Linked DNA regions of Homo sapiens: regions 1, 2, 3, 5 and 6 are each linked to region 4. The links are contacts of gene promoters, found by promoter capture Hi-C in blood cells and fetal thymus (Javierre and others, 2016). All regions are on one chromosome and are shown on one strand. The core of a region is centred on a gene start or on the middle of the fragment in contact, and the rest is flanking DNA. Distances in the headings are between cores, read along the strand shown.

The links. Contacts are between HindIII fragments. The CHiCAGO score rates a contact against its expected background, and 5 or more counts as called.
Region 1: a fragment that was not itself captured here is called in contact with the fragment with the promoter of PIGR in region 4 in 8 of 17 cell types (non-activated CD4 T cells, naive CD4 T cells, naive CD8 T cells and 5 more); the score reaches 11.9 in non-activated CD4 T cells.
Region 2: a contact is called between a fragment that was not itself captured here and the fragment with the promoter of PIGR in region 4, in 3 of 17 cell types (non-activated CD4 T cells, naive CD4 T cells and naive CD8 T cells). The highest score is 6.8, in non-activated CD4 T cells.
Region 3: a fragment that was not itself captured here is called in contact with the fragment with the promoter of PIGR in region 4 in 3 of 17 cell types (naive B cells, total B cells and non-activated CD4 T cells); the score reaches 7.7 in naive B cells.
Region 5: a fragment that was not itself captured here is called in contact with the fragment with the promoter of PIGR in region 4 in 4 of 17 cell types (non-activated CD4 T cells, naive CD4 T cells, total B cells and 1 more); the score reaches 6.6 in non-activated CD4 T cells.
Region 6: a fragment that was not itself captured here is called in contact with the fragment with the promoter of PIGR in region 4 in 7 of 17 cell types (non-activated CD4 T cells, total CD8 T cells, naive CD4 T cells and 4 more); the score reaches 10.6 in non-activated CD4 T cells.

The regions. Positions count from the first base shown.
Region 1 is chr1:206,705,646-206,710,075 of GRCh38, forward strand. The region is part of intron 1 of MAPKAPK2 (MAPK activated protein kinase 2); the gene reads left to right. Among named protein-coding and RNA genes, the nearest start is that of MAPKAPK2, 23 kb to the left of the region's middle. The HindIII fragment of the contact is 3,344 bases long and covers 1-3,027 here.
Region 2 is chr1:206,815,197-206,820,145 of GRCh38, forward strand. All of the region lies in intron 2 of IL19 (interleukin 19), which reads left to right. Among named protein-coding and RNA genes, the nearest start is that of IL10, 45 kb to the left of the region's middle. The HindIII fragment of the contact is 1,257 bases long and covers 2,212-3,468 here.
Region 3 is chr1:206,752,163-206,756,594 of GRCh38, forward strand. No RefSeq gene overlaps it. Among named protein-coding and RNA genes, the nearest start is that of IL19, 16 kb to the right of the region's middle. The HindIII fragment of the contact is 2,636 bases long and covers 1,181-3,816 here.
Region 4 is chr1:206,944,535-206,949,649 of GRCh38, forward strand. PIGR (polymeric immunoglobulin receptor) reads right to left here and starts at 1,932. Exons shown (of 11, transcript NM_002644.4): 1 at 1,802-1,932. The HindIII fragment of the contact is 20,587 bases long and covers 1-5,115 here.
Region 5 is chr1:206,771,642-206,774,919 of GRCh38, forward strand. IL10 (interleukin 10) reads right to left here and starts at 853. Exons shown (of 5, transcript NM_000572.3): 1 at 630-853. The coding sequence starts at 794. The region is part of intron 1 of IL19 (interleukin 19); the gene reads left to right. RefSeq lists cis regulatory regions at 482-1,103, 564-1,103. The HindIII fragment of the contact is 213 bases long and covers 1,565-1,777 here.
Region 6 is chr1:206,689,101-206,693,936 of GRCh38, forward strand. All of the region lies in intron 1 of MAPKAPK2 (MAPK activated protein kinase 2), which reads left to right. Among named protein-coding and RNA genes, the nearest start is that of MAPKAPK2, 6.6 kb to the left of the region's middle. The HindIII fragment of the contact is 2,020 bases long and covers 481-2,500 here.

The DNA of each region.
Region 1 (4,430 bases), core at 106-2,605, 240 kb before region 4:
CAAGGGCATCTGGAGGGTGGACCAGGGCAGAAAGGCGATTAGCTCTCCGTTACCCAGGGAGCTGAGACAAAGGCATTTTGGGTTAAATTCAAGGAGGAATTCAGAATTGTGAACTGGATTTATGGAAGTTTGTGGAGTTTGAAAATTCGAGAGTCCTGGCTGGACTTGTGCTTGGAACGTTGGTCGGAGGTGGATATGAATGATGGGTCCTGCAGATGGCCGACTCCTGAGAAATGACTGGGAGGCTTTACTGGATTTTTCGCTTGGAACAAACCCAGGCTTAGGGAATTCCCGGAGCCTGTTGCAGGCCTCAACACCCTTCTGGTGCAGCTTCGCTGTGAGGCAGTGGTTATTTCTCAGGAAACTGGCAACTGGGAGTAAATGGGAGTGTGGGGTGGGAATCAGCTACTCTTCCTGAGGATTATACACTTCCAGTGTAATTAAGGCGGGGTCAGGATTTCCTATCTCTTATTTATTTATTTATTTATTTATTTATTTATTTATTTATTTATTTGCTTAATCTTAAAAGGCTGCTTTTCCCCTCCTGGTCTTCCCACAGGGACAGGAGTTAGTCTGTTCCCAGAAGGAGCTAGGGGAGGTGTCCTTCATCTCCCATTCCTTCTTGCCCTCTCCCTGCCTTTCCCTGGCCACAGCCACAGAGACCCAGAGTCACTCAGATGGGGGAGGAGCAAAGCCAGTCCCTCTGATCATTGCCTCTTTGTTAGTGGAGAAAGGGCAGATGCTGCTCTGCAGTTATCCCGACCACCCTGCAGGACGTCTGGGTGGGCCGGGCTTTGGTTTGGGAATCGGGAGTATTAGCTGCAGCTGCCAACTGGGCTTGTACTTGCAGACTCCCAGGCTCCAGGCTCTCTGGAGGGGACCAGCAGCTCTGACCCCCGTGGGCTTGCTGTGGTCCCCAGGGAGCAAGCCCTTGCCAAGAACCTCTGAGCTCACCGAGGCGGGTATGGGGTAAGGATGGAGAAGGCCTGGGGAGCAGAAGTGTGCAGATGACTCCCTCCTTCCCCTCAGCTGGGTATGCATCACCGCTGCTGGGAAGACGTTCAGGCCACTTCTAGACAAATCGGTCATGATGGAAATTTTTTCTTGCCCGTGGGTGGGGCTTTACTTGTTCAGAAGTGGCTTCAGATGTGCTCTTTCTAGGTCCTGGCTTGAGTGCTGAGCATTTACCTGCAGCCCCTCGGGGCTAGAAGGCAGGGCAGTGTCTGAGCCCCTTCCCTACCCCTTGGGGCTAGAAGGCAGGGCAGTGTCTGAGCCCCTTCCCTACCCCTCATTCATTCTCTCCCCTCACCTGTCATTCCATCCGTCAGCCCCGAACAGCTTGGCAGCCTTGCGGCTCCAGCTGGAGCTTAGTAGGCATGTAGTTGGAGGAGGGAACGGCACTGCAGCCGCGCTCTTCTCTCTCCCACAGGTCTTCTTCTTGTTGGGCCTCCACTTCCTGTCAGGGCCCTGCTTGCAGCTGTGGCACATCTGGACCTAGACGGGGTATCCTGTTGTCCTGCATGATGAGGATCCCAGATTTCCCCTAGGTGATGACCACAGTCATTCCAGGGTGGGAGCAGGACTTCCCCCACCCCCAGGCACTCCAGAGACTTCCTCCAGGCCCCCACTAAGTAGTCTGTTCCCAACTCCATCTCTCCCCCATGGAGAATGGTGGGAAGGAAGTTCTGCCAGAGGTTGTTTTTGGTTTGTGAGGTAATAGACTTTGGTTTGAGAAACATACATCTCTCCCTCTTCTTTAAGATGTGAAGCCAGAAGCACCAGACTCTGGTTTCCTTGGAAACCAGAGCAGCAAAGGTAGAGAAAAAAGGGGCTGGTTGTAGGCACTGAAATTGGGGAGGATTCTCTGGATCCCAGCACTTTTCTGGGGAATCCACATGGTCTGCCCTGGGCCCTGGGTTGTAGCCCTCACTGTGTTAATGGACTGTGTAACCTTGGTAAAATGCCTGCAACTCTCTGCACCTTAGTTTCCGCCAAGATGCCTAAGGTGGGGAACATGTTGGCTCCACTCAGATTCTGTGCCCCAGAGACCTGCTGGGTGTGTGTGGGGGTTTGGGGGTAGGGCATGGGGCTCCTGCTCACTGATTTAGCATTTGCTGTGGCTAAACTACAAAGTGGACAGTCCACATGGAGACAGTTGAGAGCTACTTGCACCCAGGTCCTTTCTTTGAGAATACAGTGATGTAACAGGAGACTTCTTGCATTTTGCCTATGTGAAACCAGCTGGATTTTGCTGAAGCTGTAATTGTGTCTCTACATTCTTTGATTCCTGTCTAAAAAAAATGGTTTCCACAAATGCTGTGAAGAATAGACTGACAGAGCTGGAAAGCGTTAAGTAGGGATCCTTTAAACAGATCCCTACATTGTACATTGATCCCTTCAACCACAGCCAGAGAGGGGCAGGGACTTACTTGCTCTGATCACACAGTCAGAACAAGAACTAACAACAGTAAAGGTCTGGGTAGCAGCCTCACATATGCTAAGATTCCCTGTTGGCTAAGTTTGTCTGTTCCCAGGTCACCCTGGCCTTTTGCAATTCTGCCCTCCGCAGGCCCCTGTGTTGGCTGAAACCAGCCCTCTTCTTCCCCTTGCGCTTTCCTCCTGTGACCTCCCAGCCACCTCTTGTTTCCCCTGTGGTGTTCCCCACCTGTTGTTACTTCCTATTCCTCCTCACAACTTTTTATTATGAAACATTTCAGATGTGCAGCAAACTGGAAAGAATTGTACAGTGAACATGATTATACCAAACCACCTAGATTCAACCATTAGCCTTTTACTATGTTTACTTTATCATGTCTCTACGTGTTTCAATCTCTCTATCCATTGACCAGTCCATCTTATTTTGGGGATGCATTTTGTAGTAAATTGCAGACATCAATGTACTTTACCCCTAAACATCTCAGCATACATAGGCATTAATTTGAGTTCAATATTTGTTCATGCATTTTTTTGATGATAATATTTATATTAACAGTGAAAAATGCACAACTCTTAAGGTATCACCTGATAAGCTTTGATAAATGCCTCTATCTGTGCAACCCAAACCTCTGTCAACTATAGAACAAAAAGTTTTATTACCTAATTAATTCCCTCGTGTTGTTTCCCAATCATCCCAACACATACCCCCTCGCAAGTGATCACAGTTCTGATGTTTTCTCACTGTAGATTAGTTTTGCTTTTTCTGGAACCTCATATAAATGGGATAATCAGTATGAACTCTCCCTTTTGTGTGAATTTCATCTGCATGGTGACATGTATCAGTAGTTTGTTATGCTGAGCAGTATTCCATTGTATAGATATGATAAAATTTGCTTCTCCATTCCCCTGTTGATGGACATTTGGGCTGTGTCCAGTTTTGGGCTATGATGAATAAAGCTCCTGTTAACATTCTTGCACAAATCTTGTTGTGGATGTAATGTTTTCATTTCTCCTGGGTAAACAACGAGGAGTGTGATTGCAGAGTTACAGGAGGCTGTTACTTATTGTTCCTATCTGACTCTCTGCCCTGCCCTCTCATTGTACTGTGCACCCAATTATTTTAGGACTGTTATCACATCCAGTCCCTCAGTTGCTCCTTCAGGGTTTCTCTTCTTCCGGCAATTCACCCTAGTTTATTGAACTGTTGCTCTTATGTTATGCTCCTCAGATCTTTTATATCCTGGTTGTCCTCCTCTGGAAGTATAATACTCTTTTACAGATGTGTTGCCCAGAACTGAGTTCTCGCTGCTCGATGTGATCTACATGTGGATTCTAGGTATGGGAGAAATATAGAGTGTGGGTGCATTTGGATCCCTGTCTTGAGCTAGGTACTTGATCTGTGAGCTGAAGGAAATATTAACTTTTTGGCAGCCACGTCATGGCATCAGATCAGATGAGTTAATGTTTGTAAAAATACCACAAATCTAAGGTCATATTAAGATATCCATTCAGCTTGAAGTCAGTCCGAGCCTCTGATACTAATGGCATTTATTATGAACTTTCTACTTGCCATTGTGTCATTTAGTTTTTGCCTACCACTTGGTGAGAAAGGTACTATTCAAATTAGCTTAATAAAAACTCCTTGATTTAAAACTAGGGTACTTAGCTTTGGCACTGTTGACCTTTTGGACCAGATAAGCCTTTGTTTGTTGTGGGGGATTGTCCTGTGCTTTGTAGGAGTTAGCAGCATCCCTGGCCTCTACCCACTTGATGCCAGTTGCAACCATCTATCTACCCATGCCCCCAAGTTATGACAACAGAAAATGCCTTCAGACATTGCCAAACGTCCCCTGGGGGGCAAATTAACACCAGGTTGAGAACTATTCCCAAGGTGTAGAGCTTAGTCACCGAGAAAAAATTTAAACAATATAGCTCTTCCTGAAAGGTAATCACTGCCAGCTCTTTAGCATATATACTTACAGATTATGCTCTTT
Region 2 (4,949 bases), core at 1,590-4,089, 130 kb before region 4:
TGGGTTCCAAGAACAAACAGCCTGAGAGAGAAAATGAGAAACTGATGGAGTCTTAATGTCTGGACCAAAAAAACTTGGTTCTGCTGCATTCTATCAGTTAAGTGGTCACAGTACCCAGATTCGAGGGCAGGAGATATAGATGTCATGTCTCAGTGGGAAGAATGTCAAATAATTTTGGTACCATGTTTTAAGATGGCCACAGAGGAAATAATTAGAACAGGCAGCCAAAATTTTACTCTTGAGAATTCCTAATAGGCCAAGTTAACTGCTAAATAAAGTGTATGTAGTTCTCTTTGGATTGGGTGGATTTAGTCACACAAGTCCTTTTAAAATCCTGAGTTAAAAATATTCCTTTTTTTACTATTATTTATGACTCAGTTAGGTCAATCCTACCTGATTATCCACCACGATTTTGGAGATTAACATCAGCAAAATAGGAGTAGCATAATCCTATATGAAACGTAGTCTTGGTAAGAAAATGACACCAAGCAAGTCATAACCAGACATATCTTAAAAGCAACTATATAAAAGAGACATCCATGGGAGAGGAAGAAAGATAAAAATGATAGCAAATTTCTCATTGGAAGTAATGCAAATAAGAAGATGGCAAAGCAGTATCTTTAAAGTACAGTAAGTCCTCACTTAACATTGTAGATAGGTTCTTGAAAATGGCAACTTTTAGCAAAATGATGTACAGCAGGCCCTCGAATAACATTGTTTCCTTCGACATTTTTTCATTACAATGTTGATGAGAAAAAAATGCTTTTATTATACGTTGTTTTGTTTAAAGTTTCCAAGAACCTACTGATGACATTGAGGACCTACTGTACTGAAAACAAAACAAAACAAAACAAAACAAAAAAACCTGCCAGCCTAAAATTCTGTATCCAGTGAAATTATCTCTGAAAAATAAAGATGAAATAAAGGCTTTTCAGGCATATAAAAGTTGAAAAAATGCATTGCCAGCAGACCTGCACTAATGTCCTTTAGGCAGGAAGAAAATGATATCAGATGGAATTCTGAATATATGCAAAGAAATAAAGGGCACTGGAAATGGTACTACATGCGTAAATGTATAAGATTTTAAGAATATCTTTAAAAGATAATTATTTTTAAAAAATAATGTACTTTGGAATTTATAAAATAGGTATAGGTAAAATGTATGAAAATAATAGCATAAAAGCTGGGAGTGAAGAAACGGAAGTACACTATCATAAGGCTCTTATACCTTACATGAAATATATAGTATGATTTGAAGGCAGACTGTGGTGAGTTAAAAGCATATGGTACATATGAAACCCTAAAGCAGCCACTGCCACTAATATAATAAAACAAAGTTATATACAATAAGTCAACAAAGGAGATAAAATGGAATAATGAAAATACTTAATGAAATCAAAAGAAGGCAGAAAAAGGGGCAAAGGTATTTAAAAAAAGATGGTACAAATAGAAAACAAATAGCAAGAGGATAGCCCCAAACCTAGCCATATCAATAATCACATTAAATACAAATGGCCTAAATATGACCATTAAAAAGGAGACATAATCAGACTGAATTTTTAAAGAAAATACGTGAGAACAAACTATATGAGAGACATACTTTAAAAACACAAATAGGTTAACAGTGAAAGAATGCAGAAAATGGAGAAAGATATACTATGCTAATGAACTGTCCCTCAGTGAGTTAAAGAAACCAATGACTAAATTTTTGGGCTTATAAGATAGCAGATAAGAAAAGAAACAACTTGCTGAAAAGCTGAAACTGAAACTGTGCACCAAAGAGTAAGAAACCAGTAACTAACAGAAACTCTTGAGCTGGCAGGATATCAGATAAGAAGCAACTTGCTGAAACGCTGAAACTCCCTTGGCTTCTGATATCAAGAAAAAAAAACTGGCTGAAATCAGTTGGAACCAAGATGGCCTACTGGAGTTTGCACAGAATGAGCTTGCTGACATCACAGCCTAAATTTCCACCATATGTTTCATACTAACTCCCCCTGATTTGCACATGAGACCTGTGATCTAGCATGAAGAGATAACTGCGCATGCCTAAGGACTTTCCAGACCTCCCTTTCCTTCCACCAATCACCTACTGATCTCAGAATCTACCCCCTGAACTTTTCCTAAAATAAATATTGTCTTGAAGCCAGCACAGGGAGACAGATTTGAGCTTGACACTCTTATTTTCTTGTGAGTCAACTTGCAATATAAAGCTTTTCTTTTCTCAAAAACTCAATGTCATTATATTGGCTTCTAGCACATCCAGCAGCAAGACACTTTTGTGCAGTAACACTAATAATGGTCAAAAGAAAGCTGGCTATCTACATATGTCTACCTATTTATCTAGAGGCATAAATCTCATCTATATCTCTATCACACATATTTCAGAGAGGCATATTACCAGGGATAAAGAAGGTCATTTCATAATGATAAAGAGGTAAATTTATCAAGAGGACATAACAGTCTTAAGTGTTTATGCACCTAATAACAGAGCTTTAAAGTAGATAAAACTTCACAGAACTACAAGGAGATATAGAAAAATTTACAATTATGGTAGAAGATTTCTTTTTTTTTTTTTTTAATTTGAGACAAAGTCTTTCTCTTTTGCCCAGGCTGGAGTGCAATGGTGCAATCTTGTCTCACTGCAACCTCTGCCTTCTGGGTTCAAGCGATTCTCCTGCCTCAGCCTCCTGAGTAGCTAAGATTGCAGGCGTGTGCCACCACTACCAGCTAATAGTAGTATTTTTAGTAGAGATGGGGTTTCACCATGTTGGCCAGGCTGGTCTCAAACTCCTGACCTCAAGTGATCTGCCTGCCTCAGCCTCCAAAAGTGCTGGGATTGCAGGCGTGAGCCACCACGCCCGGCCAATTATGGTAGAAGATTTCAATACCCATTTCTCAATAATCCATAGAATAAGGAGGCAGAGTTAGCAAGGATATAGTAGACTTAAATAACACTGTCAACCAAGTTGGCCTAATTAACATATATAGAACACTCTACCTAACAATATTAGAATGTTCATCCTTTTTGAGTGCAAACAGAATCTTTACCAAGACAGACCATATTCTGGGCCGATAAACTGGAAGTAGCTCAAATGTCCATCAGAAGGAGAATGGGCAAACAAATTGCGGCATAGCCATATAATGGCTACTACTAAGCATTAGAAAGAAATTAATTGGTCATACATGCAACACCATGGACAAATCTCAAGATAATTATGTTCAGTTGAAACCAGACAAAAAAGACTACATACTGTATGATTCTATTTACATAATATACTAGAAAACCCAAATTAGTCTATACTTTCGGAAAGCAGATTAGTGCTTGCCTGAGCAGGGTTGGAGTGGGGATGTGGGTGAGAGGGTAGGAGAAAAGGATTAAAATAGAGCAGGAGAAACTGCTGGGGCTACTGAGTATGTTCACAGTTTAATTGAGGTGATGGTTTTATGGATGTCTGGATATGCCAAAGCTTATCAAATTGTACACTTTCGTTACAATAAAAAGTCAGCCCATTTAGAAGTTTATAAAGAAAAGTGAAAATTGTTTCTCTGCTCCAGATCTTACTTAGGTTTAGAGTTTGTATTTTCTTTCTTTCTTTCTTTCTTTTTTCTTTTTCTTTCTTTTTTTTTTTTTGAGGCAGAGTCTAGTTCTGTCGCCCAGACTGGAGTGCAGTGGCATGATCTTGGCTCACTGCAACCTCCGCCTCCCAGGTTCAAGCGATTCTCCTGCCTCAGCCTCCTGAGTAGCTGGGATTACAGGCACCTGCCACAGCGCCCAGGTAATTTTTGTATTTTTAGTAGAGATGGGGTTTCACTGTGTTGGCCAGGCTGGTCTCGAACTCCTGACCTCGTGATCTGCCTGCCTTGGCCTCCCAAAGTGCTGGGATTACAGGCGTGAGCCACCACACCCAGCTTATTTTTTCTTTTAAGGGATGGGTCTTGCTGTGTTGCTTGGGCTGGCCTCAAACTCCTGGGCTCAAGCAATCCTCCTGTCTCAGAGTTTAGCATTTCTTAACATCATCTTAACCCACACTGTTCAATATAATAACCTACTAGCCACAAGTGGCCATCCAAATTTAAATTAATTACAATTAAAATGTAAAACTGGGCTGGGTACAGTAGCTCACGCCTGTAATCCCAGCACTTTGGGAGGCTGAGGCGGGCAGATCACGAGGTCAGGAGTTCCAGATCAGCCTGGCCAATATGGTGAAACCCCATCTCTACTAAAAATACAAAAATTAGCCGGGTGTGTTGGTGTGTGCCTGTAGTTCTAGCTACTCGGGAGGCTGAGGCAGAAGAATCCCTTGAACCTGGGAGGCGGAGGTTGCAGTGAGCCAAGATGTGACACTAACTCTACCCTGGGTGACAGAGCAAGACTCCGTCTAAAAAAAAAAAAAGGAAAACTCAGTCCTTAGTTGCAATAGGCACATTCCAAGAACTCAATAGCCATTTGTGGCTAGAGGCCAACATATTGGAGAGTTCAGATTATAGAACATTTCTGCCATTAGAGAAAGTTCTTTTGGATAGCTTTTTCCTGGGCTATGTAGAGACTCAGCACTATTACAAGCAACTTAGATCTTTCACTGGCCGCTTATTGAGCACTTACTTTTGCCAGAAACTGCCAGGTCCTTTATATGAATTATCTCTAATTCTTGCAGGGAAAGACTAAGAGAAGCTTGAATAATTTTCCAAGGGTCGCAGTTACTAACTGGTATACCTAACATGTAAACCTATGTCTATCTAACCCCAAAGCCTAAGTTCTTATGTGGGTCTCATATCTCCTGTGACTGGGCCATCCCCCTTTCCTTCTATACTTGTGAAGGATTCTTTTCATATTCAACCATGGAGTCTTATATTTATCCCTCCTAAATTTTGTCTTGTTGGATTAAGCTTATTGCTCCAGATTGTCAAAATATTTTAGGATCCTCATCCTGTCATTCCATATGCTC
Region 3 (4,432 bases), core at 1,249-3,748, 190 kb before region 4:
GCTTATTTACCTTTTAAAAAGATTTACATAATTTCAAACAGGTAGAGAAAGAACTTAAAATTACAAGTTTTCTAAAGTAAATGCTCACAGGGAAAGTTAAGCCTCTTTTTTGGAATTTTTAAATTCAGAGGTACAAGTGCAGGTCTGTTACATGGGTAAACCTGTGTCGTGAGGGTCCACTGCACAGATTATTTCATCTCCCGGGTATTAAGCCTAGTGCCCATTAGTTATTTTTCCTGATCTTCTCCTTCCTCCCACCCTCCACCCTCCAGGACGTCTATTTTCTTCAAGAGATTTATATTAGACTTGAGAAAACAATTTCTCCTTCCTTCCTTCTTTCCTTCCTTCCTTCCTTCCTTCCTTCCTTCCTTCCATCCTTCCTTCCCTCCCTCCTTCCTCCCTCCCTCCCTCTCTCTCTCTTTCTGTTTTTCTTTCTTTCTTCTTTCTTTGTTTCTTTCTCCTTCCTTCCTTTTCTTTCTTTCTTCTTTCTTTCTCCTTTCCTTCCTTCCTTCCTCTCTCTTTCTTCTTTCTTTCTTTTCTTTCTTTCTTTCTTTCCTCCTTTCTTTCTTTCTTCTTCTTTCTTTGTTTTTCTCCTTCCTTCCTTCCTTTTTCTTTCTTTCTTCTTTCTTTCTCCCTCCCTTCCATCCGTCCTTTCTTCCTTCCCTCTTTCTTTCTTTTCTTTCTTCTTTTTTTTTCAGCGTCTTGGCTCTGTCACCCAGGCTGGAGTGCAGTGGCATGATCACAACTCACTGCAACCTCAAACTCCCGGGCTCAAGCGATCCTCCCACCTCAGCCGCTCAAGTAGCTGGGATTACAGGCATGTACCACCACACCTAGCTAATTTTTTGTATTTTTTTTGTAGAGATGGGGTTTTGCCACATTGCTCAGGCTGGTCTTGAACTCCTGAACTCAAGTGATCTACCTACCTTGGCCTCCCAAAGTGCTGGGTCTACAGGCGTGAGCCACTGTGCCCGGCCTCCTAGGAAACAATTTCTTGATGGTGATTTTCCATCTTTTTGCTGTGTAGGAAAGAGATTGAGCTCCATGGTAATATGTGAGAGAGAAGAGACTCAAGGGACTAAGAACCTGTACCACAAAAGGAAGGTCTGTTTTGGAGATTTGCTGGAGCTTCCCCATTGGATGTGTCATTGAATGATGATTCATCCTGGCCAAAAATAAAAGCTTCTTAAGCTGGGTGACTCTAAGTTTGTGTGTGGTTTACGCTTGGACATGCGTTACTTTTATGACATAAAAGTGACTTCAATCTGGTAAGATATATTTATAAACATAGAGGTCCTTTCATTTATTAGGAAATTCCAATTGTGTTACGGGGTCTTCTCAAGAGATCTAAATCTATTCTCCTCTAAGATTTAGGAAATCTAAGCCGGGCATGGTGTCACTCCTGTAGTCCAAACACCTTGGAAGGCCGAGACGGGTGGATCACTCAAGGCCAGGAGTTTGAGGCCAGCCTGGCCAACGTGGTGAAAGCCTGTCTCTACTAAAAATAGAAAAATTAGCCAGGTGTGGTGGCATGCACCTGTAATCCCAGCTACTTGGGAGGCTGAGACATGGGAATCACTTGAACCTGGGAGGCAGAGGTTGGAATGAACCACTACACTCCAGCCTGGGTGACAGAGTGAGACTGTCAAAAAAAAAAAAAAAAAAGTTTGAAGAAATCTGGAATGATCATTTGTCCAGTATATGAAACTCTGAGAATACTACACATGTGGAAACTAGAATCTATCAGAAATTCCAGGATGCTCAAATATCTTCTCCCTCTCCTTCATTCACAAATGATTTGAACACTTATATTTTTCCTTCTACTGCTTTCTACTGATTTTCCTTCTACTGCTGTGAGTCTGATGGGCTTCAATACCATTGTGGTTGACTTATCCAAATGTGACTTTTCAATTCTGTGACTTTTATATCTCCAATGACCTTTTCTTTGCCTCTACACAGCAATTTGCTCTAACGGTTACAGCCTGGATTTTGTTATTCCTCAAAATGATACCACCTCCAAAAATCCCTTCATTTGAGCATTCCATTCTCTTGCCACAGCCTCCTCTCTTTAGTGATTCAGATACTCCCACTACAACTCTTCCTTGACCTCATGATCAACATGCTTCCTTTTCTTTTTTCAGCTCTCTCCTGCCTTTATTTCCTGCATTATTGAACTTAGACTGCTTGGTTCATCTTTTCATTCAGGCTCTTAGCTATACAGACATACCTTAGAGATATTGTGGATTTGGTTCCAGACCACTGCAAGACAGTGAATATCACAACAAAGCCAGTCCCACAAATTTTTTGGTTTCCCAGTGTATGTAAAAGTTATGTTTATACTAGACTGTAGTCTATTAAGTGTGCAATAGCAGTATGCCTAAAAAAGTACATCAATATACATATCTTATTTGAAAATACTTTATTGCTAAAAATGCTAATGATCACATGAACCTTCAGTGAGTTGTAATCTTTTTGCTGGTGGAGGGTCTCACCTTGATGTTGATGGCTGCTGATTAAGGTGGTGGTTGCTGAAGGCTGAGGTGGTTGTAGCAATTTCTTAAAATAGACAGCAGTGAAGTTTGCTGGATTGATTGACTCTTTCACAACAGATTTCTCTGTAGCATGTGACGCTGTTTGATAGCATTTTGCCTACAGTGGAACATCTTTCAAAAGTGGAGTCAGTTCTCTCAGGCCTGTCTGCTGCTTTACCAATTATGTTTATGGAGTACTCTAAATGTTTTGTTGTCATTTCAACAATATTCACAGCATCTTCCCCAGGAGTAGATTCCCTCTTAGTAACCACTTTCCTTGCTCATTCATAAGAAGCAACTCTTCATCTGTTCAAGTTTGATCATGAGATTGCAGCAACTCAGTCACATATTTTCAGTCTGCATTTCTAGTTCTCTTGCTATTTCCACCACATCTGCAGTGATTTCCTCCACTGAAGTCTTGAACTCCTCAAAGTCATTCATGAGGGTTGAAATTAACTTCTTCCAAACTTCTGCTAAAGTTGATATTTTGACCTTCTCCCATGAATCACGAGTGTTCTTAATGGCATCTAGAATGGTGAATCTTTTCCAGAATGGTTTCAATTTACCTTTCCCACACCCATCAAAGGAATCATTATGGCAGCTATAGCCTCACACAATGCATTTCTTAAATAATAAGACTTAAAAGCCAAAATTACTCCCTGATCCAGGGGCTGCAGAGTAGATGTTAGCAGGCAGGAAAACAACATTCACCTTTTTGTAAATCTCCATCAGAGCTCTTGGGTGACCAGGAGCATTGTCAATGAGCAGTAATATTTTGAAAAACATCTTTTTTCTGAGCAGTAGATCTCAACAGTGGGCTTAAAATATTAAGTAAACCATGCTGTAAAGAGATGTATTGTCATCTTGGCTTTATTGTTCCATTGATAGAGCATAGGCAGAGTAGAATTAGTATAATTATTAAGGGTCCTAGGATTTTTAGAATGGTAAATGCCCTCAAGGTGGGCGGATCACAAGGTCAAGAGATCAAGACCATCCTGGCCAACATGGTGAAACCCCATCTCTACTAAAAATACAAAAATTAGCTGGGCATGGTTGCGCATGCCTGCAGTCCCAGCTACTCGAGAGGCTGAGGCAGGAGAATCACTTGAACCTGGGAGGCAGAGGTTGCAGTGAGCCAAGTTTTCGCCACTGCACTCCAGCCTGGTGACAGAGCGAGACTCCGTCTCAAAAAAAAAATAAAAATAAAAATAAAAAAGGACCTTGGCCTCAACTTAGAGTCACCAGCTGCATCAGCCCCTAACAAGACAGTAAGCCTGTCCTTGGAAGCTTTGAAGTTAGGCATTGACTTCTTTCTAGCTATGAAAGCCCTAGATGACATTTTCTTCCAATATAAGAATGTTTTATCTACATTGAAAATCCATTCTTTAATGTAGCCACTTTTATCCATGATCTTAGCTAGATCTTCTGTTTAATTTGCTGCAGCTTCTACGTTAGCACTTGCTGTTTCACCTTGTACTTTTACGTTAAGAAGATGGTTCTTTTTCCTTAAACCTCATGAACCAACTACTCATAGCTTCCAACTTCTCTTCTGCAGCTTCTTCTAATCCAGAGCAAGGACCTTGAATTGAAGAGAGTGAGGGCCTTACTCTGGATTATGCTTTGACTTAAGGGAGTGTTGTGGTGGATTTGATCTATCCAGATCCCTCAAACTTTCTCTGTATCAGCAATAAGGCTGTTTCACTGACTTACCATCTGTGTATTCAGTGGAGTATCACTTTTAATTTCCTTCAGAAACTTTTCCTTCACATTTACTGGCTGTTTGGTACAAAAGCCCTAGCTTTTGGCCTGTCTCAGCTTTCAACATGCCTTCCTCACTAAGCTTAATCATCTCTAGGTTTTAATTTGAAGTAAGAGATGTGTGAGTCTTCCTTCTCCTTGAA
Region 4 (5,115 bases), core at 682-3,181:
AATTTCTTCCTGGAAAATATTAGCTGCTATTTATTTAGCACCTACCATGTGTAGGATATGTTACATAACCATGGGTATAACCAGGCATGTTGACGCCAAAGCCTCTTTCCACTCCACCATACTGTGTCGATGCCAGTGACATTGGGACTCCAGCCCCAGCCCCTCCAGAGAGAGGGCAAGACATAGATGAAGGTCTCTGCTGAGCACAATGCATAGGTATTTTTTTTTAAGTTGGATAGTTTGCTTTTTAGGTGACATCAAAATGTCCTCATGACCATATCAAAATGGCTGTACCAAAACCTCATCGTTCAAACTTGCTGGTGACTTCACACCACTCACATAGACTCACGGTGTCTTGGTTTCCTCAACTAGGGAATGACATCACAAAACCAACCCTGCCTACCTCCTCGTTGGTATCAAGGGAGAATGAGACGAAGGTGTGAAAGCCCAGGGCAAGTGGGTTTACTAAATGGAAGCCTGTGTGACCCCATTTTTTATCACCTAAAGCCACAGAGGTCTAGCGGCACTAGGAGATAAGCAGAGAGAGTTGCTTTCCTGACTCCTGGCTCAGTGTTCTTTCTGCTACTTTAGCACATCCAGGGGCGGGACAAGGATGGAGAGAGAATTCCAGATCTGGCTCTGGGAAGACCTATGTCCAGGCACCAGACAGCTGCCTTCTACCTAAACCCCTGAAATTGGCATCTCCTCTCCAGATGTTAAAGGATCTATAATTCCCCTAGTGAAGGGGGAAAGTGATGGCACAAAATAGGAGCAGCTTCAATGGCCCCAGGCACTGTGGCAATTGCACAAAGGGAACTGGGGGTCAGGGATGGAGCTTGACCCGCTGCTGCCCTTGTGCCGGACGGTCCCACTGCTGGCTTGGGCTGCTGTCAGGATGGGCAAAGGGAGGGGAAGCCCATGTCTGAGATCTGCTGGCTGCAGAGCCAGGAGGAACAGCAGGAGTTGATCATGCTGCCTGTGGGGCTCAGCTCCACCTCACTCAGTGATCCCGTGAGGACCTCTTTTTTTCTACCTCTAGGAAGGGCAGGATGATGCGATGACACACATTTATGTCTCCCATGGCAGGAATCTGCTAGAGCAAAGCGAGGTGGAATTGCAAAGGATTTCAGAGGTTCTTGGAAGCCCAGAAAAAAGGAGCTGAACATGCCTTTGCCAGAAAGCCACAAGTGGGAAACCTCAAAGAATGGAAGAGGACTTGCTAGGTGCCATACTTTATGCGCACTATCTAATTCCAGGTCTGTTGGTGTTCAATAAATCCTTGATTAATTAAACTAAACTGAAAAATATGAAACAATTCCTATTTCATTCTAGAGGTTACAAAGCTATTTCACCTGTGTTTTCTCATTTGAACCCACATTGACCCTGAATGATAGGTGTTATTTCTATCTTTGTTTTACAGATTAAGAAACTGAGGATCAGAGAGGTTAGGTGGCTTGTCTAAGGCCACACAGTTAATCAACTATGAGGAGTTAGGAAATCCAGGCACAGACCAAGCTGAAAGAGTAGAATTACATATGCTGACCACAGAGGTCCCTTCCCACCTGCTGATATTTCTCAGAAAAGGATGGGGGGCTTCCACACACGTGCATCCCTACTCGTCCCACTGCGATATGCACGCTTACTCCCCAGCCACACACAGTCACACAGTCTGCCTCCTTGTCCTTGTCACCCCACTATCTAGGAGACTGGGAGTTGGGAATGGAGGGGGTTACCTGAGCCATCGTCCCGAGCCCTTTCCAGATAGCATCCCGTCTGGGGATCCCAGAGCAGTAACACTTACTTTTAGCCACTTCCTTCTCTCCCGTTGATCTGACTTCAGGGACACAGCCTGCTGGCCAGTTGGTAACCCCTGCCTCTCTAGGAGCTACTGGCAGGGCACTGGACGCTGCTGCCAAAACTGAAACTCTGCTCAGTGTTTGACCCACACCTGGGCTCTTAAAGGGCCACTCTCCCACAGGCACCGTGGCCAGCCAGGGTCATGTGACTCTCACAGATCCCTTGCTTTCCTTTCATTTTGGCCTTCCTGGCTGGCTCCATTTGGTTTCCTTTGACCTTGGGGAGACTCTGTTACTTGGGAATCCTCCATCGTTGCAGCTTCAGGATGAGGGACAGAATGTCAAGCGTGAAGATGCTGTTCTGTCGCTTTCTAGCTGCAAGACCTTTGGCAAGTCACCTTCCTATTTCTTTTCATCTGGAAAAGAGGGATGGTAATACCAAATCTACAGGTAGAGGATATAGCCCGGTATTAGCTCTAAAATACCTGGCCCAATGCTTGATTTGAAGTTGACATCATCTGATGGGGCACAGGTGGCAGGAGTGGCTGTCGTAGTCCTTGGTCTCATATCCCCAGTTGCTCTGGAATCCCCTCCGACTCCCTAGGTTACTTAGCCTGGACAAAAATGCCCCTTATACACCTCCTGCCAAGCCCCTTTTACCAGTCCCAGAGCTCCAGGAACTGGCAGGACTGTGGCCCTTCCTGTTTCACTCCCCAGAGTCATGAAAGACTCGCTGCTTCTGGGCTCCCCTGAACATGGCTGACCTCAGAGTCTTGTTAGGACCCGGGCTCGGCTCCATAGCAAGGACGGTGCTGACCTGCTGAGCTGAAGTAGCACCTCCTTCCCTATCTGTTAGTCCATGCCAAAACATGACCTGGTTGGGACTCCCAGGTGTTCCCCAAATGATCGTGGCAGTCCTGTGACAAAAGTGAAGCCCACTCCCCAACACACACGTGTATGGCCCCCCGACCCCTCACTGCAAACCCCCACAGAAATGCTGCCCATCCTACCTGTGCAGGGCTGACCCAGGCTCTCCCTACAGAGTCCTATAGGCCAAACACCAGAAGGGGAAGGAAAAATAGAGAAATAGAGCCCTGGAGAAACACAAGGCAGCCAGAGCCCTGGGTCTTATTTTAGCTAACCACTGGCTCACTTGTGGGTGTTAACACACAATCACAGATTTCAATGGCAAGCAAAAAAACCCCATAATTTCTTTATGTAGCTTAATTTCTCTCTTTTTTTGTGGTTTGCAAACTTAGATTTTCTTTTTTTATTTTGTTTTAGGTTCCAGGATTACATGTGCAGAACGTGCAGGTTTGTGACACAGGTAAACGTGTGCCATGATGGTTTCCTGCACCCGTCAACCCACCACCTAGGTATTAAGCCCCACATGCATTAGCTATTAGTTCTAATGCTCTCCCTCCCCCCACCCCCCCCAACAGGCCCGGATGTGTAATGTTCCCCTCCCTGTGTCCGTGTGTTCTCATTGTTCAGCTCCCATTTATGAGTGAGAACATGTGGTGTTTGGTTTTCTGTTCCTGTGTTAGTTTGATGAGGATGATGGCTTCCAGATGTAGCTTAATTTCAAACCCTAAACCCATAATCTGACTGATAAAAGAAAACAAGTTACCTAGTCACTTCTAGGCAAGCTCAGCCCAATTCAGTGATCTCTCAGTCACTTCACTCCAGATTTAAAATTTAGCCTCATTATGGAGTTCCCTTCCTTTTTGTCTCCCTTCTCTCCCCTGGGGTCCAGTCTGGAGAGAGCGGTCTTGGGTGAGGGGGTGGTCAATGTTACTGCTGAGGCAGTGAAAAGGGGTGGCCCATTATTATTTTGGTCTTGCTTTGTCACGATGCTGTGCTGGCCTTGGGCTCCAGAAGGAAATAGTTTTGTCTACTGAGATGTGACTTCCCCTGCTTGGTCAGTGGGCTTTGTCCCTGCTCATCCTGAGGGTTCTGTGGTCCACACTGTGCCCTCCTAGTCCATACACTGAGCTCCCTGGGGTGGGTCTTCCAGGCCCTCAGCCTCTCCTTGCCCACCTTGTGGGTGCAGGGTGAGTTTGGCTGATCACAGACTCCTGAGGCCTTTGGGAGATCCTGTGCAGCAGAGTCACATTTTCCCCCAACACTCTTGTAACCTCCTGTGTGCCAGTGTTCCCATATAATTGGGGGTACAATGGATATCAGCAAGACTGTGGACCACCAAAGTTCTCTACAGGATGGGCGAAGGTGAGGGCCCCTCAATCTGGAGTTTTCAAGCCCACCTGGATATCTCTATCATTGTTAATCCCCTCTCCCCTACTGTAGCCTGGACTCTGCCCCATGGTGGTGGGTGGGAGGGCACCAAGACACATCAGTAACTAAGCTCTCCTTTTTACTCTTCAGCAGTCTTTCTCCTCCCCAGTTCTGGGGTTAATGTCTAGCAGGAGGATGCGAGGGGAGACAAGATATGCAGGTGCAGAGATGAGACAAGCCTGGTTCTGTCAGATTATAGCTCCTTTCAAAGGATTCCCGATTTATACCTCTCTCCATTTGAACTCAATAGTCAAAATATTTGTAGGGTTTGTTTCTTCCTTCCCAAAGCAAGAAATAAGTTGTGTCCAGTTGTCCAGGCTGGAGTAGAAGTCAAGGCAGGTTCACAGAACACTAGTGCAGAAATTTGACGAGCAAAGGCTTGCAGGGAGGAAGGGGAGAACACTCATTAAATCATTTCTTCTCATGCTGCCTTGGTGGGCGTGGAGGACAGGTTGCAGATTTCCTTCCCTGCTTTGCTATTTCATGATGGTGGGTAATTTACTAGATCATGTCCTGCTGCATGTTTTCAATAGTCTCCAAAACTGTCTTAGCTGACCCATGTCAGACACACACACATACACATACACACACACACACCCCACATACCTGGAGCCCACTGATCCTACTGATCCAGTTTACAGAAAGGGGAAAATGAGAAGTAGAGCCCTGGGAAGAGGCAGGGAGTCAAAAATCCTACGTCCTATTCTGGGCTCAGCCACACGCCGGTGGTGTGATTGGACTCACTTGCTTCCCCTCTCGCACTGTGGTTTCCCCATCTGGAACCCAGTGGCCCTAAAATAGTACTATTTCTCAGCCCTGGGGGAGGAGGGACAGGCCAAGAGAGTCCATTGCCCAAATCAATAATAATGATGATAACAGCAGTGATTATACTTTCCAAACTTACAACACTTCATCTGCTCAACCCTCCCTGCTTCTTTTAAAGTAATCATACAAGAAAATATACCAGCAGAAGAACAGCTTCTCACTGGACTTTCCTGACTCTGGGACTCAGCATAAGTCACTG
Region 5 (3,278 bases), core at 421-2,920, 170 kb before region 4:
TTTTGAAGGGAAAGCAGAAGCTTGACTCAGTCCTGGTCTTCTTTCTGCGGAGCTACATTCGGCTTTAAGGGACACCTATGTCAACCCTTCGGGGCCTTGAGCCCCCCTCATGTCCTGTTCTCTGCTTTTCTTTCTCCCCACTGTAGACATCCAGTTTAGCTTGGAAAGATCCCAGGGATTAAGAAGCTCCTTCTAATGCAGGTTTCCCTCATGTAGAGTGCTTCCCTAAACCACTGGTCTTTCAGGTCTGGAAACGCTCTAAGCAGAGGCAATTTAAATTTCCCTGCTGCAAGGCATGGGGAGCATCTTCACCTCGAATCAGACATTTCTTTACTTCTCCTAGCCAATAAAGTATAGAGCGCCAGCAGGATCTTATAAGTTTCTCAGCACGAGAGAGAACGCATTTACTTTATAAGGCAGGTTTCCTGCACATTTACTGTATCATCTGGCTTAGCTTAACTCACCAAACCCATGGCTTGATCTAGGATTCTCTTAAGAATTTAAGTTTGGGGGAATAGGTGTTGGGGATGGAGGTGGAGGCGCAGGAGGAGGGTTCTTATAGTTCCAGGAGAATGTCTAGTTCAGGCAGTCCCAGGAAGAGAGAAAGGACAGGAAGGAATCATACTCACAAAGAAAGTCTTCACTCTGCTGAAGGCATCTCGGAGATCTCGAAGCATGTTAGGCAGGTTGCCTGGGAAGTGGGTGCAGCTGTTCTCAGACTGGGTGCCCTGGCCTGGGCTGGCCCTCACCCCAGTCAGGAGGACCAGGCAACAGAGCAGTGCTGAGCTGTGCATGCCTTCTTTTGCAAGTCTGTCTTGTGGTTTGGTTTTGCAAGAGCAAGCCCCTGATGTGTAGACCTTCACCTCTCTGTCCCCCTTTTATATTGTAAGCTCAGGGAGGCCTCTTCATTCATTAAAAAGCCACAATCAAGGTTTCCCGGCACAGGATTTTTTCTGCTTAGAGCTCCTCCTTCTCTAACCTCTCTAATAAACTTAGTTTTCAATTTTTGCATCGTAAGCAAAAATGATTGGTTGAACATGAACTTCTGCATTACAGCTATTTTTAGGATGGGCTACCTCTCTTAGAATAATTTTTTAGCTTCTCAATTAAAAAAAGTTGATTTCCTGGGGAGAACAGCTGTTCTGTGCGCAGAGGCCCTCAGCTGTGGGTTCTCATTCGCGTGTTCCTAGGTCACAGTGACGTGGACAAATTGCCCATTCCAGAATACAATGGGATTGAGAAATAATTGGGTCCCCCCAACCTGGGATGAATACCCAAGACTTCTCCTTGCTAACTTAGGCAGTCACCTTAGGTCTCTGGGCCTTAGTTTCCCCAAGTAAAAATGAGGGGGTGGGCTAAATATCCTCAAAGTTCCCAAGCAGCCCTTCCATTTTACTTTCCAGAGACTGGCTTCCTACAGTACAGGCGGGGTCACAGGATGTGTTCCAGGCTCCTTTACCCCGATTTCATTAGGATTCTCAGGCACATGTTTCCACCTCTTCAGCTGTCCCCCACCCCAACTGTGCTTGGGGGAAGTGGGTAAGAGTAGTCTGCACTTGCTGAAAGCTTCTTATATGCTAGTCAGGTAGTGCTCACCATGACCCCTACCGTCTCTATTTTATAGTGAGCAAACTGAGGCACAGAGATATTACATCACCTGTACAAGGGTACACCAGTGCCAACTGAGAATTTGGTTTCCTCACCCTACTGTACACCATCTCCAGCACATAGAATGAAACCTTGGATTAAATTGGCCTTAGAGTTTCTTTTAGTTGTAAGCTTCTGTGGCTGGAGTCTAAAGTTTAAAAGATGGGGTGGAAGAAGTTGAAATAACAAGGAAAAGAAGTCAGGATTCCATGGAGGCTGGATAGGAGGTCCCTTACTTTCCTCTTACCTATCCCTACTTCCCCTTCCCAAAGAAGCCTTAGTAGTGTTGTCTTGGATTTGTGTGTGTGTGTGTGTGTGTGTGTGTGTGTGTGTGTGTGTGTGTAGAAGGTAAGGGGAGCCAGTTGGGTTGCGGCGAGGAGTGTTGCTCTACCTGGGGAAGGACCGGGGCAGTGACATCAGGACTTCTTCAGATATCTGGAAAGTCTCTGGGGATCCTTTGATTGAGCCTTCACCTTCCCCTTCCACAGGGGCTTTGCCTGCCATTCCAGTTTAGACTGTAACTGGGAGGAACACTGACCTAGGTGCAGGAGGCCTGGGCTCTGCCTTGGCCCTGCCACTCTATAGTCAGGGCAAATCACTCATCCTCCCTGTGTCTGTTTTTCATCTGTCCCAACAGGGCAATAGCACCTGTCCTCCTGCCTGCCAGGGAGCATTGAGCTTAAGTAGCCATGGACCCAGATGGAGGGCATTTCCAGTGTTCTGCTAGTTCTTCACCTTTCTGCATCAGCAATGGGACAACTCCAGTGGCAGCAGGTTCTGAGCTTGCTGCACTAGAGAAGGTCACTCACTGCAAGGGGTGCAAACACCTTGGGGCCCAGCCAGCGTGAAGTGAGTGGGAGGGAGGGATGAGAGGGCCCACGCCCACCCTGTGGATGTCCCTGCTGTGTGACCTATGGATCAGGGTCAGGGGACTGTGGTGTCTCTTCCCAACTCTTCAGGGAGTGTCAATGTAGAAACCTAAGAATCAGGAAGTGAGAAAGAGCCTGCTAGAAACTAGTATGGAGCTAACTCAGAACTTACTGGTCCTGCCAGACTTAGACTGGCTTAAGGGTTCTGTCTGAGTTCTGCTGCCAGGAAGCAGAGAGAAGGGGACCAGGACCTGGGTTTCCCCTTCTTGCACCTTTCTCCTTCCCCCTCGGCTCCTGGGTTTTCTGGGCTGTGTCTGTGTTAGCCTGCAGGTCTAACCCCCTCTCTGAGCTGGGTGTTCCAGAAGTGGACTCAGCATGGGCACCAGGCAGGCCAGGGGTTCTGGACTCTGGGTGAGGCTGTGAACCCCTCCTTCCTTTGTTTCCCATCTTGCCTTGTGCTTACCTCACTAGGAAACCTGCAACCCTACGTGGTTATCATTCATGTACACACCATGCCCTGCCGAATCAGCTTTGAGCTCCCTGAAACAGGACATTGTTTTATTAATCTTTGCGTACTTGGTACTTAGCACCAAGTCTGGCCCTTGGAAGGTATCAGCTATACTTGGGATGGGCATAGAAGAGTGCCCTGTAAGCCTGGAGGGTGCGAGGCTAAGGAGGTGGTCTGGGCACAGGTAAGCATTCAGAAGGAGAGGGAGAGTGACTCAGGGATGCAGGCAGCCTCCCTTCAATTTCCTTATATGA
Region 6 (4,836 bases), core at 241-2,740, 260 kb before region 4:
GCAACTCTGATTAGGTGAAGCATGTTACTGCTTTATAAAATATAGAATGTTGTCGTAACTTATCTCTGTGTATCTTTCCATTGCGTGGATTAGAGAAAACAAGGTCCTGTAGTTTCTTTTCCTTTCCTTTCTCCAGCATTCCTCTCTCCCTAGGTCATGGAAGTGCCACTGCGATGTGGCTTCCTTTGTTCTGGTGAAGGGGAGATGATTGGAGCCTCTCATGATTATTCTGGATGCTGTTGGAGGGAAATGCCAGAGCTCCCACATCCCCACAGTACAGGCACCATCTCCTTTCCAACACACCTCATACTGTGTACCTGTGGAGGGCAAGACAGTTAGTGTGGCTAGGTGAGAGGCAGTGTCCCAAACTGGAGTTTGCTGGAGTTGTCACAAGGTTAGGAAAATTTCATTGACCAAGCCAGCCTCTTTTATATGCAATATGGTTACAGGTAGGTAACAGTTTGCTGAATATCTATCATAAGCTTAGTTGCATGGAGGATACACATGTAAAAAATGGCCTGTAAAATTTTGAGTCAAGAAACTTATTTAGAGAAGGTGAAATTAACACATGTAGGCTAGGGCTGCACTGTCCAATCTGGTAGCCACTACCCTCACATAGCTAATTAAATTAAAATTAATTAACATGAATGGATTAAACTAAATTAAATTTGAAAAATCAGTTGCTAGCCACACTTCAAGTGTTCAGTAAACATGTGGCTAATGGCTATCGAATTGAACAATGCAGAAGAACATTTTCATCCTTGCAGAACGTTCTCCTAGACTTTGTTGGTCTGGGAGCTAAATCGTGTGGCTGGGAATAGAGGAGCTTTGAAAGAGGGGAATCTGTGGTGACTCCAGGAGCTAAGGGAGGCTCCAGCTGGGGTCAGTGGGACATGGCTGTGCCTCTGAGGAGTGAGCAAGTCTGTGAGAGGTGTGGTGACATTGGCCTGGCTAGAACTGAGGGGAGGAACAGGAGGTCAGAGTGGTCAGGGGTTGGTGGCTCCAAATTGAAGCTAACTCATCTTGTGTCAAAGCAGGCTTTAAAGTGTTTGAGGGGCATGAAGGTGTCAAAAAAGGTTAGGAATCATTGAAGATGGGCTTACAGAATTATGAGGGAAGGGTCAGGTTTGTGGTTTCAGAGATCCTGTCCCTCCTGGCCGTAGCCCTGACCCCAGCCCTGACCCCTGGCTCCTGCAGCAGGGCCCTTGGCATCCACTGAGGCAAGATTGAAGCTGGGTCAGCTCACTGTCCTTTTTTACTTGTGAATTCTGGGCTTTGACTGAGCTTGGAGACAATCTCCAGCTAAGATACGGGATCAGTGGCTGACAGGAGGGGAGAGACAAGCAGTCCCTGGGCCTTAGGGCCAAATATTGGTGGGTGTCTAGGAAACAAAAGAACCCCTTTGTGGGAGGAGGAAGGTATTGGGACCTGTGATGTTTCTGCTACTTGGGACCTGAGAGGTTGGGCCATCCATAATTGATGATTTTTCTTATGAAGCAGGTACAGGGGATTGGGAGGAGGGCCTGGAAGAGCCCAGCCTCAGAACTGCTGGAGGCAAACTTAATCCTTGGGCTAGGGGAGGGGCCAAAGCTCCTGTTAGCCAGAGCCCAGGAGTGTGCTGAGTGGGTGCCAGGAGGAATGTCAGCCAAGATGGGGAAGAGCAGGGCACAGTCGTCTGCATCTGAGCCATTGCCCAGTTCCCAAGCAGCCTTGCCATGCTCTGAGCTGGGGTTCTTCCTGGTGGCGTGATGTCTGTGGTGCAGGATTCACTCTATTCTCCTACCTTTCCTCTACTTCAGGCCCTGCCAAGTGTCATGTGAGGTCTCTTTTCCCCCTCTTCCCTGCACTGTATCTTTCCAGATGGTTCTGTGTCCTGGAGGGAGGTGGATGGGCAGAGAAGAGTTGTTCTTTGCAGGGACTGCAGCTTTTCTTGGTAATGGTTTGAGGCCCAGTGGCAAAGCAACCCACACTTCATAGTAACTTAGAACCCACACTCCCTGGTCATCTTTCTTGACTCCTTGCACATCACTGAGGAAGAAGCTGGCCTAGTGCAGAAATGTTCAGTGGCATGTCCAAGGTCTTACATGGTGTCAGCATCCGAGCCACATCTTGAGACCTGGTTCCCTGGGACCTGCTCTTGGTCTGGGCCCCTTTGGTTTTTGGTTGCTAGAAGACTGTAGACCTGGTGGAGCAAAACTGAGCTCCACTAACGCATCAGCTAGGATCTTTCCACATGGGTTACCTTGTAAATGGGGGCATTGGTGAAGAGAAGGGGCCATGTCACTGGACAGTGTAATAACGTATGGCAGTTATAGAACCCAAATCAGATTGCTGTGTACCTTTTCTAGTTTTTAGGAAAATACTGGTATTTTGTATTTTAAGATATATATATATATATATATATACACACATACACAGATATAGATATGTAGAGATGAGCTTGTTACCATGGGTTATGTGCTAGATAAGAAAGCAAAAATAAGTGCATACATAAATAGAAAGCTTCCAGTGTTTGTATGCTGCTAACAAGTTACATGACCTTGAATAGGTCAGCTAAACTTTCCAGGCCTCATTGCACAGAGGGTCGGCTCGAGCAGCTCCTGAGCACCGGCAGGGTGAGGCAGTAGAAGGCGGTGCTGCAGGCCAGAGGTGGAGGGCAGGCAGGATAGCTTGCTGACTTGCTCCGGGTCTGACCATCAGCAGTATCTGGGTCAGCACAGATGCCCTTTCGTAAGCTTAGTGCCTGGCTCCAGGGCAGCCTGTGTCCAGTTAATGAATAATCATCACTGACCAGCTGCTCCTTCTCTTGTGTGAAGACTTAGAAAGTGTTCTATGCTGGTGACTCGGCAGAGAGGATAGACTACGTAATTTAGCAGGGTGTGCATCTTCTCTTTCCTTAAAATCAGAAGAATCATAGTGTAGTGGTGGTGCAAAGTAGAGATGAGGAACTCTATTCCCTGTTTGAGATTCCTTTCTCAAGTTATGGGGCATTTGAGGGCCACTGTGATTTCTGGTGCAGGCTGTTCCCTGTGCACAGGGATCTGGTTGAGGAGCTAAGCGAAGGCTGAAGTCCAGCCACTGTCTCCTTGCTTGGCTTTGTCTTTGTGTGTGGCTGGGTTCTTTCAAAGGAGTGCCTTCTAATTCACCAAAGGTATGGTTATGGATTAGGGGTTGTTCTTAGGTTAGAGTTGGGGACTGATTCACAGAGCTGATGAGGAAATTAGGATTTACATTCAGGTGACCCTCAGCCCCTCAGACCAGGCTGAGTAAGAAGAGATATCAGGAATCCAAGGAAGCAGGAGGAAAAGGGGTTGCCTGGTGATGTCTGTTCTCTTTCCTCCTCTTCCTGCCCATGCAAGGCTAGAGCAGCTGTTTCAGCCCCGGAGGTTTAGACTGTGGGGTCCTGTGTGCTGGGCCATCAGGTTTGGTGGGAGGAGGAAGAAAGCCACAGTAGAAGGAGACATAAAGTTGGGCTGGGCCTCTGGCAGTGAAAGGTTCTTGGGGTCTTTATTGTCTGATCAGTAAACACCTCTGTGTGCCAGAATGAGCTGGGACAAGGCCCCAAGGTCAGCCCATATTTGTATCTGGTGTTCTCCTCCAAGACCAGCCAAGCTGTGCGCTCATTCTGCTGGGAACCTGAGCCCTCCAAAAGGGTCATATGAAAGGGCATCTTATTCTTGAGGGACGTTTCCAAGCATCTCTGTGGCCAGTGTCCATCCAGGACTCATCTTAGAGGTGAAGAGTGGTGGCCAGAGGCGGAAGCTAGTGGCCACCCGATGGGAGCCTTTTCTGTTTCAGAGCATATGAGGGAGCTGAGGGAGCTGTACTGTTGATGCCTTCTCTCTGGCTCATCTCCATGAAGATTCTTTTGAACCAGAAGCAAAGGTGAAGTCTCTCTGAGGGGAGGGGCTGAACAGGAGATCTACTGACTGTCCCCCTGCCGACTCCTCCACTTTCGTCCTCCGGCGGGGCTCCTTATCCTCCTGCTTGTCTACAGGGAGAAGATCGAGTTGTTCGTTTGCTGCCATTTTAATGATCCACATTGTTAGGAGGCTCTCAGTACACACCGGACCTTAGCAGCCTGGCCTCCTGCCCAGGGCCCAGAACTGTTACTCAGCCCCTCTGCCGAACAGCTAAAAATAAACCTGCCACTGCTGCAGTCTCCCCTCACAGCCAGGCCCTGTTAGCTGTCCCAGTGCTTCCTGCCACACCGCTGACCTGTTTCTCTCACTTTCTGCTGATATTCTCCCTGCTTGCCCCTTTCTCTTCCAGCCTGAGCTTGGTAGGTGATTTGGGGCTAACTCACTCTTCTGAGTGCTGGGAGACGTGCTATGGTTTTTATGTCTCCAGGTGTCTAGATTTGTGTGTATGAAAGCTCCGTGAAGCTGTCCTGCTTATTTCCCAGTAGGGAAAGGGTTAGACAAAAAGGAGAGTGACCAAGCTCATCAGAGTGGATCAGACCTTCTACTGTGCTCGCCTCCAGCCCTGGCTTCCTCCAGTTTTACCTCCAAGCAGGCCTCTTTGCCAGAGTTACCTGGTTATGGTAACAGAGTTACCATAGTTATATGCTAGGACAGCCCCACATGGGCAGTCTGCCCCAGGCCTTCAACCCGACTGCCCTGTCACCGAGCATGCTACCTACCGTGTACTCCTGCCCTGTTGCTACGTTATATTCTCCACCTCCGCAGTGTGAGGCTTTGGGCTACCACATTCAAAAGTGTGACCTCATCTTGTCAGCGTCCAAGAATAACTGGGCCCTGGCTCTCAGGATCTCCTTCCTGAGTCAGGCCATGGCACCTCTGGCCCTTCCAGCTCAGCCACATGCAGAATGTCACC